2 separate regions of the Homo sapiens genome follow, and region 2 is linked to region 1. Evidence: promoter capture Hi-C in 16 types of primary human blood cells and fetal thymus (Javierre and others, 2016). All regions are on one chromosome and are shown on one strand. Each heading gives the region's core, a stretch centred on a gene start or on the middle of the fragment in contact. The rest is flanking DNA. Distances are from core to core; before and after follow the strand shown.

Evidence for each region. Contacts are between HindIII fragments. The CHiCAGO score rates a contact against its expected background, and 5 or more counts as called.
Region 2: a contact is called between a fragment that was not itself captured here and the fragment with the promoter of PDGFC in region 1, in 1 of 17 cell types (M0 macrophages). The highest score is 5.4, in M0 macrophages.

What each region holds. Positions count from the first base shown.
Region 1 is chr4:156,967,238-156,973,738 of GRCh38, forward strand. It overlaps PDGFC (platelet derived growth factor C), which reads right to left and starts at 4,562. Exons shown (of 6, transcript NM_016205.3): 1 at 3,549-4,562. The coding sequence starts at 3,666. RefSeq lists an enhancer at 4,349-4,849. The HindIII fragment of the contact is 8,294 bases long and covers 1-6,501 here.
Region 2 is chr4:157,981,936-157,988,280 of GRCh38, forward strand. It overlaps LOC105377509 (a long non-coding RNA gene), which reads right to left. Exons shown (of 6, transcript XR_007058347.1): 2 at 5,771-5,840. Among named protein-coding and RNA genes, the nearest start is that of GASK1B-AS1, 190 kb to the right of the region's middle. The HindIII fragment of the contact is 8,793 bases long and covers 1-5,820 here.

The DNA of each region.
Region 1 (6,501 bases), core at 3,312-5,811:
CTGGGCACCTTTTTTAATTTTCCATTTTTAATTTAAATTTTGTTAGATACAGGAGCATTGACAGTAGGAAGAGAAAGCTGGCACTGATAAAAAGAGATGGAAAATCCATAAACACAAGATACCGGCAAAAGGGCACGACCAGCAGACCAAAGTAAATTGCCCCACATGCCACAAAAGCCCTTGAGAAAAAGAACACATACAATAACTGATGTTAATAAGACCAACCGTAGCGAAGAGCGGCATATTCCAAATCAAAATTCAGAATGGCTAAAGAAAATGAGAAAAAAATGATACGCATGCTCTTAATCTATGAGTAAACTAAAAATCACTCACCAACAACACAGGTAGAAGAGGCATTCCTCCACCAACAACTTTGTCATTGACATCTCTTTGTGCTGTATGCAACAGACAAAGTAGGTTTTGTTTTGTTCCTGGGTGTATGATTCTTTCTGCTACAACTCAGAAGCACCGTCCCAGAACTTAATCATTCCACAATAGGCATTCTCATCTAAAACCAGTGTGCACAAAATATGAGTATTTTTCACCATGGTCATACAACAAGTATACAGGCCAGACACCCTCCAAGCAAGTCAATGTTATCTTTTAATCTCTTTCCTCAAGTTAAATCTGAAGACTCTTGTTTTCATAAGTGAGACAGGGTCAGAAGTAAGGTTAAAAATTAAGTATAGTATATGAAGTCAACTTATAATATTAGAGGATAAAACTTTGTACAGTAAAAGTGGCAAGAATTGCAATCCAATGGTAGGTCAAAAACCAGATACCTAACAATAGTGTAAATGACACTAACCCTTCAAAGCTAATTCTGAACCATGTCCACATGATCCAGTCTAAATCCATGTATGCAGCATTGGCTACAGCAATCAATTTCCAATTCTACCTCCTCTTGAAATACCAAGTTAATATTAAAACTGAGCAGCCCGAGGTACCTGATTGAGTAATCACCATTAGGGACTTTAGAATACTCAAGAAAAGAGAGTATCATGAGGAGGGGTCCTTGGAGACAAGAATGAGCTGCTACAGTCATAATATATCAATTTGGACATTTCAGAGTTAGAGAAGACCTGTCACAAAACGATGCAATGCACAAACTGGGCCAATGGGATCTTCTACGTGGTATCCTCAAGGAGGGTTCGTATTTACAGGACTGTACAACTGTCAAAATTGAGACAGCAACAGGGCAATCAAAATTCAATCATAATTCAGTATGTGGGCAAAAGATTACCCACATAATGGAAAATTTGAAAGACAAAAAGAAGAAGAAGTAGAAGTAGTAGTAGTAACGGTAATGGTAGTAGCTCTAACAAATCTGGTTACATTCCAGGGGAATCTTCTTCAGCACCCACCTGTTACCCTCAAATCTTGAAACATTTACGTATAAAAATCAACCTGAGCATGTGCAAGAAAATAGCTCTATATTGCCCCCTAGTGCTGGCCAGTGCCACTTCTCCTTGGGCTAAAAACTACAAGTAGTTCCTCTACTTCTAGTTACTTCCTGCTGCCATCCTTAACATAGACCAACCCCCAAACATAGCCTAATCCTCTACCCACAGATTAGGAAACAAGCAGCAATTTTTAGCATCATGCATCTTAGGAATGGAAATGGCCCAGCCTCAGATGGCAACAGAATGTGTGTGGCCTGGCTTAATGAACTCATCTCTCCTGGAGGTGTGAATCTACTTGGGTAAAGTGGCCTATGACCACATGCTGCATGACAGCTCTGGGACCCTTACAAAGTGATGATAGCATGGGGATCACAAGAGAGAACTAAAAGGAAAGGACAAAGAGAAGCACAGGTCAGCAAAGAGATTCGGGCAGATGCCAAGAGAGGCTTGATAAGACAAGGCAATAGGAGAAATGATATGGGACAGGAACAATAAAAAACAGAAGCCAGGAAGCCAGGAATATTGTGCATTGTTGTCATTATGGAGGAGCTTGGCTAGTAAGAAGCAATATTTTGAACTGGACATTTATTTTACATGAGAAAGAACAAAGGTTGGTCTGATGTGTTTCCTGCACGGGTACAGCTGGTGCTGTGGCTCCTTTGATCACTTTCCCCCAGACCTCTGCAGCTACTGTGATTAGAGATACATCCCTAGGCTGCCCTTTGATCAGCAGCTCAAGGAGCCTGCAGGTGCCATGTGGCATCACATTAGCAAGTTGTAAGAAGCACCACACTAATATTAGCTGATAAATGTGATACTATGTCTTGCTGCGCAACAGCAAATACAAATAACGTTTGCAAAAGTCGGCAGAATCCTTATTTTATCTACTTTTATACCCTAAAACTTTCTGTGCTTTCTTAAACATGAACACTTCATAGAGTTTAAATTCAAAGTTGAAGTCTTGAAACACCCCAATATGAAAAGGAAAAAAAATCACTCTGACTTAAAACTATAGCACATCCTATCTTAATTTTGTAGGTATGCCACTTGTGTTCATTTTGCATGGTTAATCAAGTGACAGAATCCTTGCATTCTGAATAGATGATATACAAAGCAGTAAAAACATGTATATTCCTTTTCAAATTACAGTAAGAGCCACCATTTGTAAACAGGGCGTTAAATATTCCAATTTTAGACAGCCTAACATGAACATTGTGGTTTCATGTGCAGTATAAAATTTCTATTTACAAAGTATTCTCAAAAATGACTTCATAATGGTAGATGAAGAGAAAAAGAGTTTAGAAATTGAATGATGTAAATCATATGGGTTCAGAGGCTAAGCAAATTACACACCCTGAAGCTGCCCTGGCTTTATGAAAGGAGCCTTTCTCCAGCTCTGTGCAATCCCAGCCCAAGGGAACTTGCATCTGAGAGTTTTCTAAACATTTCAGGTACACTTGAAAGCTGAAAGTAATTCTCATTTCCTATGCAGGATTAAGTCGTTTCCAGCACACACAAAATAGCAGTCATTCACCAACACATACAAAAACACACCACCAGAAAGGTAAGGACTTCAGAGTACAAAGGCAAGTTTAAAAAACAAAAACTAGGGAGCAAGAGAAATACACTTTTTAATTCCTCTAAAAACGACCACACAGCCTCTTGACCTCTATATTTCCTATCTACTCATTGATTAATTGATGACTTCGACCTAGAGTGCTTCAATTAATGCGGCTGATATATTTCCTGACCGACCCCCCTCGCCCTCCCCAAATCTGAGTAAAGTCAAACATGCCAAGGCTCATTCATTTTGGATTCGTTTTTAGAGGCAGTTCTTGAACTTCTAACTTTAGCAATGAGCGAACCTGCAATGTGCATTTGAAATGACGTTCACAATCGCTCCCAGAATGTCCTCACTCAGCAGTGGCACTCACGTTGCCCTCTTGGAGCTTTGTGGCAGCTCCCGAAGTTGCAAACTACACTTAACCTTTAACAGTCCATGCCAATGAACGCAGCGCACATTTGCATGTAATGAGAGACCAAAGATACCTTCACAGTCTGGTATATATCACATACCAACGCACAATGCCAACGTTAACACACACAGCGAGAAACAAGCAGGGGGAGAATGGGGGAAAGACTCACCGTTCTGTTCCTTGTTGCTGGAAAACTGGAATTTACTACTCAGGTTGGATTCCGCCTGAGTCCCCTGTCTCTGGCCGGCCAGGGCAGATGTCAGCAGGAGAAGCCCGAAGAGGCTCATTTGGCTGACTGGGGTGAGAGCTCACTCACGGCGGGCACTTTGGAAGCAGCGACTCCCGAGTCTCTTTCACCACCGCCAGGGGAAGGCTGCACTGGGGTGGAAGCGCCGAGCCTGCTCTGGCAGCAGAGAATCGCAGGGTAGTTTCCACATAATCCCATCCAAAACTTTTTCCTAGAGCCCTCTTCTGTGTCTCCAGTTTTTGAAAAGGATCAAAGCAAAACCTGGACCTGAACCAGTTTCCCAAGGTTTAAACAAATCCTGAGCTGTGGCGAAGTGGTGGGGGTGGGGGTGAAGGCGAGGGAGGAATGAGGGGGTGGGGACGCGGGGGAGCGGCGAGAAGTCCCCAGCAAGTTGCTGGGAGCACCTGTCAGTTCGGGGGACAGGACAGAGGCGAAAACTCAAGGGTTGCCCGCAGCCAGACTGGAAGCCAAGTCGGCGGCGAGCAGTTTCTGATCAATAACAAAGCTGCCAATAGATGCGGCTCTCCGGGCGCCCCTCTCCCCCGCCCCACCCCCCACCCCCGAAGGGGGAGGGGGAAGAAACAAGGCGAGGGCGCCGCGGCGGGTCCCACGGGCCGGGGCGCCGGAGCGGGGCCGGGGGGCTCCGGGCCGACGGCGGCCCGGGCGCAGGCGGAGAGAGGCCGCGGGGCTCCCGCTCCTCAGCCCGGAGCGCAGTTGGCCCCGGGTTCGGAGCGCCGCAGCACGGATTCCGGCACCTGGCTTGAGTTTTCCGCGACCAAAGTTCACCTTGTTCGGGCTCGTCCCCCGCTCCTCAAAGCCTGGGGCAATTCGGCCGCTCGGGGTCACCGCGGGGCTCCGGTTGTTCCCCGTCCCCTCCCCCCACGCCTCGGGCTCCGCGCTAACCTCGGGGCTACGCGCGGCGTCTCCGCACGGGGTGAAGAGGGAAGGCCGGGGCGGCCGGGAGGATCCGGCTTGTCCCCTCCCCTTCTCTACCTTCCCCCCGCCGGGCGGCAGACAGGAGGTGGGGGCCGTGGGCCGAGCCCGGGCGGAGCGCGCGCCTGGCGAGCGGGGGCGGCTCAGCGGCTCTCCCGCAGGCGGCCGATGGGGCGGGCGGGGGTCAGCGCCTCTGGGAGGGGCAGCCCTGGGACGCGTCCGCGCGAGCGGGCTTGGCCGCCCACTGGCTGTCAACAGGTGCTGCGCAGACAGGGGGTGCTGCGGGACTCGCTGTGGGCAAGACCCCGGTGGCCCAGGAGAGGAACGCGGCCAAGGCGGCCCCTGCTTTCCCTTCCACGGAACACCTCTAACCCCAAATACAGAGCACGATGGGTGGTGAAGGGTGCTGCAGAAGTAAGTGGGAAAGAACTTCCTGCAGCTCTCCTTCTCCCGCCCCCTGTCGCCTGACTTGTCATTAGTTTCCAGGAGGGCTCCCCACTCCCTAAGGTCTTTGCTAGGACCCTTGGCCAGAGTTTCAGAACAGAAGGAAGAAGGGAAATGAATTCAAAGGCTTTCCTCCAATTTCCAGCTCCGTAAAGCAGGACAAATAAAGCAAAAGTAAAGGCAGCCAAAATAACATCCATTTAACAAGTACTATATTTACTGAATGCCTACTATGTCGGGCACTGTTTAGAGGTTGGAGCCGTAGCAGTGAAAACAGACAAAAGTCCCTGCCCTCGTGAAGCATACGTAGTAGTTGGGCAGCATTAAGCTAATAGCAAGCTCTTCTGAGAATGGTGTCTAAGGGACTCAGAATGATCCTGCAACCTTGGACTTTCCTACAATACAGCCTCTAACAAAACTAGGCTGCCCTGAACCCCTGGTGATAGAATTGTTTACATTTACACCAAAAAGGTCGAGAAAGAACTGAAATCTCTTGTGGCTTGTGTTCAGGCTGACTTGGAGAGAGAGGCCGATGCTTTAAGACCTAAAGTTCTCATGAGGTAGTCTGAAATGAAACACACATGCCAAGCAGGGCTTATGGTGGTTCCATGTCTGCTAAATATGTCTGTGACAGGATCCAACGTGCTTTCTTTGTGGAGAAGCAGAAAATCATTGTCAATGTGTTAAAGGCACAAGCAGAGAGTCAGAAAAGTTGAATTTTAAAATGAAGCTATTTTTGAGTAATAATCAAAATGAAAACAAGGAAGTGCCATGGCAGGCAAATCAGCAATATCACCCAACTTCTTGTGGAAAAAAAGTCAATGCAAACAATTCGACCATCAAGAACACTTGGGCTGGAACAGAAAACCAAAATAGCAATGTCCCTGAAACTAAGGAGTGGCATTTGGGCAAGAACATATTCTTACTGGACCAAACCAGGGGCTGATCCTTCTTCAGTGGTGAGGAAAATGCCAAGCCCTCTTCTTATATGCGAACACCAACTGGGGCCAACCAACCAGACCTTTCTGCTTGGAATATCCTAGTCTTCTTGTTTTTCCCTTTTAGAAACCTTTGAAAACTTCACCCATCTGTCTCATTCTTGAAAATTTCACCCGCCTGTCTCATTCATTCATTCTTATCCCTTTACCACTTCTATCTACAGAGTACTAAATATACACTAAAGGCAAATAAGGCCTGATCTTTGACTTTAAGGCATTTACAGTTTAGTGGACAGAAGGTTTTTTATCAAGTATGGTATTTTATTCGAGTTAGCAGCTCCACAACACCAGTGTGACTCCATATTTGCATAATGTGTTCCAAAAATATTTTGTAAATTTGTGAGGGTGAAGGGTTATTCCCAATTTTAATAACATAATGGGACTTAAATAAAGGGCATGCCTTATGAATCCATTGTAATCTATTTTTCATAAAATTCATTATTCTCCAGTTTTTCTAATTTTGTAAGTTTAGTTTTCTAATCAGCACTTTTCTAAATGAA
Region 2 (6,345 bases), core at 174-2,673, 1.0 Mb after region 1:
CACTGTTAGGAGAATCACTTTGCTAAATGGAGAATGAATTGGAAGTGGGTGACAGTAGAAATAGAAGTATCATTATAATTCTACGGGTAGGAAATTATTGTGATTTAAAACAGAGTGTAGTAGTGAAGAAGAAAAGAAGGCGATTTCTTTGAGACTTGTGCAGAGTTAAAACTGGCGAATTGCATGCATGGGAGGGAAGAAAGAAGAACAAAGACTAAAGTCCATGATTTTAGAGTTAGGAAGCTGCTGGTTGGTGATGCCTTTATCAGGGATGGACAGAATAATGGAGGAGCCCAATCTGGGTGGAGAATGAGAGGCCAAGCACTCAGCTTCAACCCCGTGATTGTCTAGACCCACTGTGTGATTAACTCAAGCTACTCTTAGATGTCAATGACATCTCTGAACATCTATAAACCCATGGTACCTTACAAATATGGCTCTAGAGTCTAGTGCATCATCATTTTGATGATTCAGCTACTCTGAATCTTCTGTTGTTTCAGTCCTTCCATTGAGCTGCCAACACCTCCCTTTACTCACTTTACATTTCATGATACCAGTTGCTCAGGGCTTATTTTGTCCCAGGGCTTCTACTCCACACTTCTTTCTGTCTCATTTATTTTTCTTCTTCTCTACATCTTGTTTGCTGACCAACTCTGAATATTCTTATTTTAATTTTTTGAAGGTAAGTTTGATTGGTTATAGTCAGCATGTATTATCTTTCCTTCTGTATGAGATGACAGTAAGCCAGCCGGACAAGATGCAGCACACACATCATAACTACTACAAGTCTCCCAAGAGAAGTCAAGGTCAGCTTTAAACCTTGCAGACCCACAGTATATAATGCCAGCTCATGATGGTGTTAACTAAGTAAGAACTGTCCTACTCCTTCCTCAATCTTCTATACTACCCACACTGTGTCAAACACTAGAGGGGTTCAGAATGGCAACTGTTGCAGGGAAGGGATTGAAAATAGAAAAGGAAAATACCCCAATTAATATGCCTCTTTCTTATTAAGGCAACCAACTTGTAAATGGTCAGCACTGGTAAAGCAGAGTTGTTTTATCTTTGAATAATATTTATAAAGTTTTGATTATTACACTGGACATATTAATTGCTCCTTACAATATTTTTATTAATGAACATGACTGGAAAAAAATGTGGTGACTTGTCCTAAGTTTCATCCGGTGGGAAGTAAGACTGGCCGCATAGAATAATTTAAAGGAGGACAAAAATAAAGTTGTTTTATAATAACATCCCATGAGTCATGTTTGTTCAATACAACACATATATCTGCCTTAACTCTGATAATATTCAGCCTTGATATAGTATGTTCCTCTGTCTCTTCCACTGTATTTTAAACTCCTTGAGAGTATGAAGCCACCTTGCTTTCTATTTTACTGAGAAAATAGAAGCAGTCGCAAGAGAACTTCCAAAAGCTCCCACCTCCGCAGTTTTCCACTTAATTTCAGCTGGGCTTATTATCTAACCCTCCATCTCTCCTAATTTGAGTGAAGAATGCCAAATCCTACACTTGTGCGTGAGATTCCAGCACTGCTAACTGGCTCGAAGCTGTGACTTCAGCAATTCTCTATCCTGTTGCATCATTTTCCTTTCCGCTGAATCATTTCCATGCACATAAAATACATGCTTTTACTTCTCCCCTCTTAATTCTTCCCTTCTTATCCTCTCTTGAGGCAACGTCAGTCAAACTCTTACCCACTCCTCTCCATGAAATTTCTAATGAAAATATTACCAATGAGCTCTCCATTGTTAAATCCAAAGGACAAGGCTCTATATGCATATTAGACCATCTATCGAAAGCATTTAACATAGTTGATGTCAAATCCACTGCCTGGAAACTCCTTCTTCCAGGATGCCACACTCTCCTGGTTTTCCTTTCCCCATTCTGGTCTCCCCCTTAGCCTCCTTTGCTATTTTCTCTTTCTACCCAAACTCTTAAACATTGGAAAGCCTCAAACCTAAGACCGTTTCTCTGCCCTAAATATTACTCTTTCCTTTGATGATATCATCCTATCTTTGATAGTAAATATTACATAAATATACAATTCCCAAGTATTATATTTTTACTTGACTCTAGCTCAGACTGGACTTCTCAACTCTAGGTTCAAATGTTCAGTTGCTTACCCTGCATTCCACTTGGAAGTCTAATCACAAACACAAACTCTTCAAAACCAAAATCCTAACTTTTCTCCTTGATGCATTTATTTCCTTCCTCACTGCTGTCAGTGGCAACCCCATATTTCCAGTTTATCAGGCCCTAAAGCCTAGAGTTGTTCTTAATTTCTCTCTTTCACACCCACATCTATTTCATGTGCAAATCTTATAAGGTAGACCTTCATCTATTATAAAACCCAACCATATCTTACCTAACCCCTGTCACCTTGGTCCAATCCAACATCCACTCTTAACCGAGTTATTAATAACAGCATAAAGGATCACCTCCTGCTTTTACACTTTCTTCTTCTAGGTCTATTTAAAATTTTTAAGTGAATCATGGCTGGGTGTGGTGACTCACGCTTTTAATCCCAACACGTTGGGAGGTGAAACAAATGGAAGCCAAGCTCCAAGCCAGTTTGAGACCAGCCTGGGCAAGATAATGGGACCTCTTCCCTACAAAAAATAAAAAACTTAGCCAGGAATTGTGGTGCACACCTGGAGTCCCAGCTACTCAGGAGGCTGAGGCAGGAGGATAGCTTGAGCCCAGGAGTTTGAGGCTGCAATGAACCATGATTATGCAACTGCACTCCAGCTGCATGACAGAGTGAGGCATGTCTAAAATATAAATAAATAAACCAGAAGAAACTCCTGTCTTATTTTTCTTGTTTAAAATGAGTCATATTATGTCATTTCACTGCTTAAAACCTCTGATGACTTTTCCTATCATCCAAAATGACAGTCGAGGTCTTTAGAATGGTCTATAGGACCTGCATTATCTACTCTCCCCTTTTCTCCTCAAAATCATTCCTGTTACTTTCCTTCTCTCTAACTCTGCTCTAGCCACATAGACCATGTTGCAGTTCCATGTATCTGGGCCATGCTCTGGCCTCAGGGTCTTGGCACTTGGCTACTCTGGCTGAAATGGCTTTCCTTCAGATATCCTCATGGCTGGCCCCTTCACCTTGTTTGGTTTTGGTTCTACACCAGCTTCTCAGAGAATTCATCCTTAACCATGTAAGGTGGAATTACAGCTCCCACTCTGGACTCATATGTACCTGCCTCCTTTACTTTTCCCCATAGCACTCATTTCCATCTAGCATGATGTACGTAATTTTCTTGCTTATCTTTCTCTCCACTATGATGTAAGCTCTGACCACCTCAGTACCCAGTGGAGGGTCAAGTACATGGTGAGTGCTCAAAATATGTTCGAAGAGGAAATCTATGCACTCCCGTACCCCACACACATACAGTTACACCAACAGATATTTCAGAGTGTTTTACATTTAATAGATGCTTAACAAATGGTAGTTGGCTTGTAAATAATTCCATCTAGAGACTATATTATACATAGTGTATTTACCGCATTGCATGCAAACTGACTGTGAGATGAACAATGTAGCAGATCAGAATCCAGGAATAGCTACAAATTTTTTGTTTGTTTGAGATGGAGTTTGGCTTTGTCACCCATGCTGGAGTACAGTGGCCCGATCTCAGCTCACTGCAGCCTCCACCTCCTGGGTTCAAGCTATTCTCCTACCTAAGCCTCCTGAGTAACTGGGATTGCAGTTTCATGCCACCACACCCAGCTAATTTTTGTATTTTTAGTAGAAATGGGGTTTCACCATGTTGGCCAGGTTGGTCTCGAACTGACCTCAAGTGATCTGCCTGCCTCGGCCTCCCAAAGTGCTGGGATTACAGGCGTGAGTCACCACACCAGGCTGGCTACAGTTTTTATTCCTTAGGTTTACACATATTAAAAAATACTGAAAATTGCATGGGTTGTATATATCTTTCAAAAATAATAAGTTATGTAACATAAATAATAAATTACATAAAACTGTGAAATGTACTTGTGTTTATCTTGATTTCATATATTTTGGTAAACTTTTTGTTTAATTTCATTAAGAAATAGTTTAATCATCATTGCACACCATTTCAGAGTAAAATTAGGAAAACGTCTACTACAAATGGGTTTTCTGAGGGCTTGCCAAGGATTTGCAGGCAGTGGGTAACCATTCTTTCTTACCATATTTTCAAAGGAGTTTTTACTATTGCATAAATCTATAGCAGTCAATTAAATTAAAATATGGAGAAGGGTTGAATGCCTAATTACATGTTAAAATTGAAGTCTGGAAAGAGATTACATAAAGTAGTAAATAAAAGCATCACATCTGTTCAAAATAATGTTTCTAGTTTTTCCCCAGAATCACTGCGCACTTTTACTCTAAAGAAGCATAGGTTTGGCCGGGTGCGGTGGTTTATGCCTGTAATCCCAGCACTTTGGGAGGCCGAGACGGGCGGATCACGAGGTCAGGAGTTTGAGACCAGCCTGGCCCACATAGTGAAAGTCTGTCTTTACTAAAAATACAAAAAATTAGCTGGGCGTGGTGGCAGGCACCTGTAATTCCAGCTACTTGGGAAGCTAAGGCAGGAGAATCGCTTGAACCCAGGAGGCAGAGGTTGCAGTGAGCCGAGATCGCGCCACTGCACTTCAGCCTGGGCAACAGTGCAAGACTCCGTCTCAAAAAAAAAAAAAAGAAGAAGCATAGGTCTCTCTACGGCCTATCTTTCCTAGAACTTCCTTCTTTAGGTTCTGCTCTCTGTTGATATATTAGTCTGTATAAACATGTACATTGATACGTTAAATTACTTCCTATGTTGCTTTTTAAAATATTAGCAGGTGCCTCCTGAGGACTCAAAGATTTAATACACAAGATTGAAAATTAAGAGTATTTTAGGCATATTGTCAGGGAGATTATTGGAAATTCGGTGGGCAAGATAATCTTTCACCCCTCCTCTAATCACTACCCCATATTATACTCTTTTTAATAAAACATGAAAGTGTCTTCATGTTTAGCTGCAGGAGACAAATAACTTTCAGGAGTCCACCAGAGGGTGTTCATTCATTTGTTCATTTCAACTAATACTTAAAAGTTCTGTGGTTAAAGTGCTTTAGAGACCACAAAGTATTTTCATATTCTTCTTACTTAACCCTCACAACCCTCAAATTTGCAAGGATAAACATCTTGCATTAACAAATGGGAAAACTGAGACTCTCCTAAAAGTTTAAGGGATTGAGCAAAATCACACAGTTAGTTGACAGAATCATTGATACCCAAACCTATATATTCTAATGCTAAAAGTATTAGTTTCCCACAATACTTTAACTCAGCATTTCTAATATGCTAAATGTAATCGAGTCTTAAAGATGCGTAGCCATGGTTCCTACACTCCAACTACTTACAGGAGGGTGAAAATCTGTAACACATAAAAGAGCCTAACTTTTAAGAATTACAGTCAACATGATGTTGAATAACATAAAAATGTAAAGATCTTTATAATTAGCATAAATTAAGCGAACTATTGTGATTAGACATATGGAAGAACTTTACCATGTAAATGTAACTTAAAAGTCAAAAATTAGTAGAGTGACTTTCTTAAGCATATGAAATCTGCCCTTGAAAACCATAAAGAGAAAAATCTAGAACTCATCCTGGGATGAGAGTGACATGCACTTCATGGAGTCAAAAAACCTTCTAGGAAGTTTAGAGAAATCTAGTGTTTCACAATTCCAGGTGTCTTATTAACTTACCATAATTCCCTTCGGCAAATCACTTGGCAGTCAGGGTCACTGGCTCTTGAAGCTTGCAGACCAACACTGCCTGAGAAAAAGGGGTGGGAAGAAGACAACATTAAGCAACTCATCCTTGCTATTAGCCCTGCTCTGGTCCCTTGTCTATTGGCCAGTAAGAAAACAATTTCCCTATTCTTCATCCTTTTTGGATACCTATGATAGAATTGAGTCTATACTTTCATTTCCTGTAAGGCTTGAGATGAGCCTGGCTTATATCTGTCCTTTCAGAAACTGGAGTCCTCTTTCTGAACTCCAGGTAGACACTGAGATCCCATTCTCAGCTTTCACTGTTTCTGAAAACTGCTGCTTATGTGCCTTTTTCTTTACCTGAGGAATGCCTAAAGAAGTTTTAGCACAGATCCTGGCACATAGTAGGTATTCAATATTGATTGAAAATTGGTATACAACAAGAAAATATAACAAGGTCTTGGCCTCCAATGCAACTTAGAGTCTAGAAGAGAAAGATAAAAATATAAATACTAAGTGTTACAGATGCTATAATGAAAGAAATAGACTGCAAACCTGTCATTAAT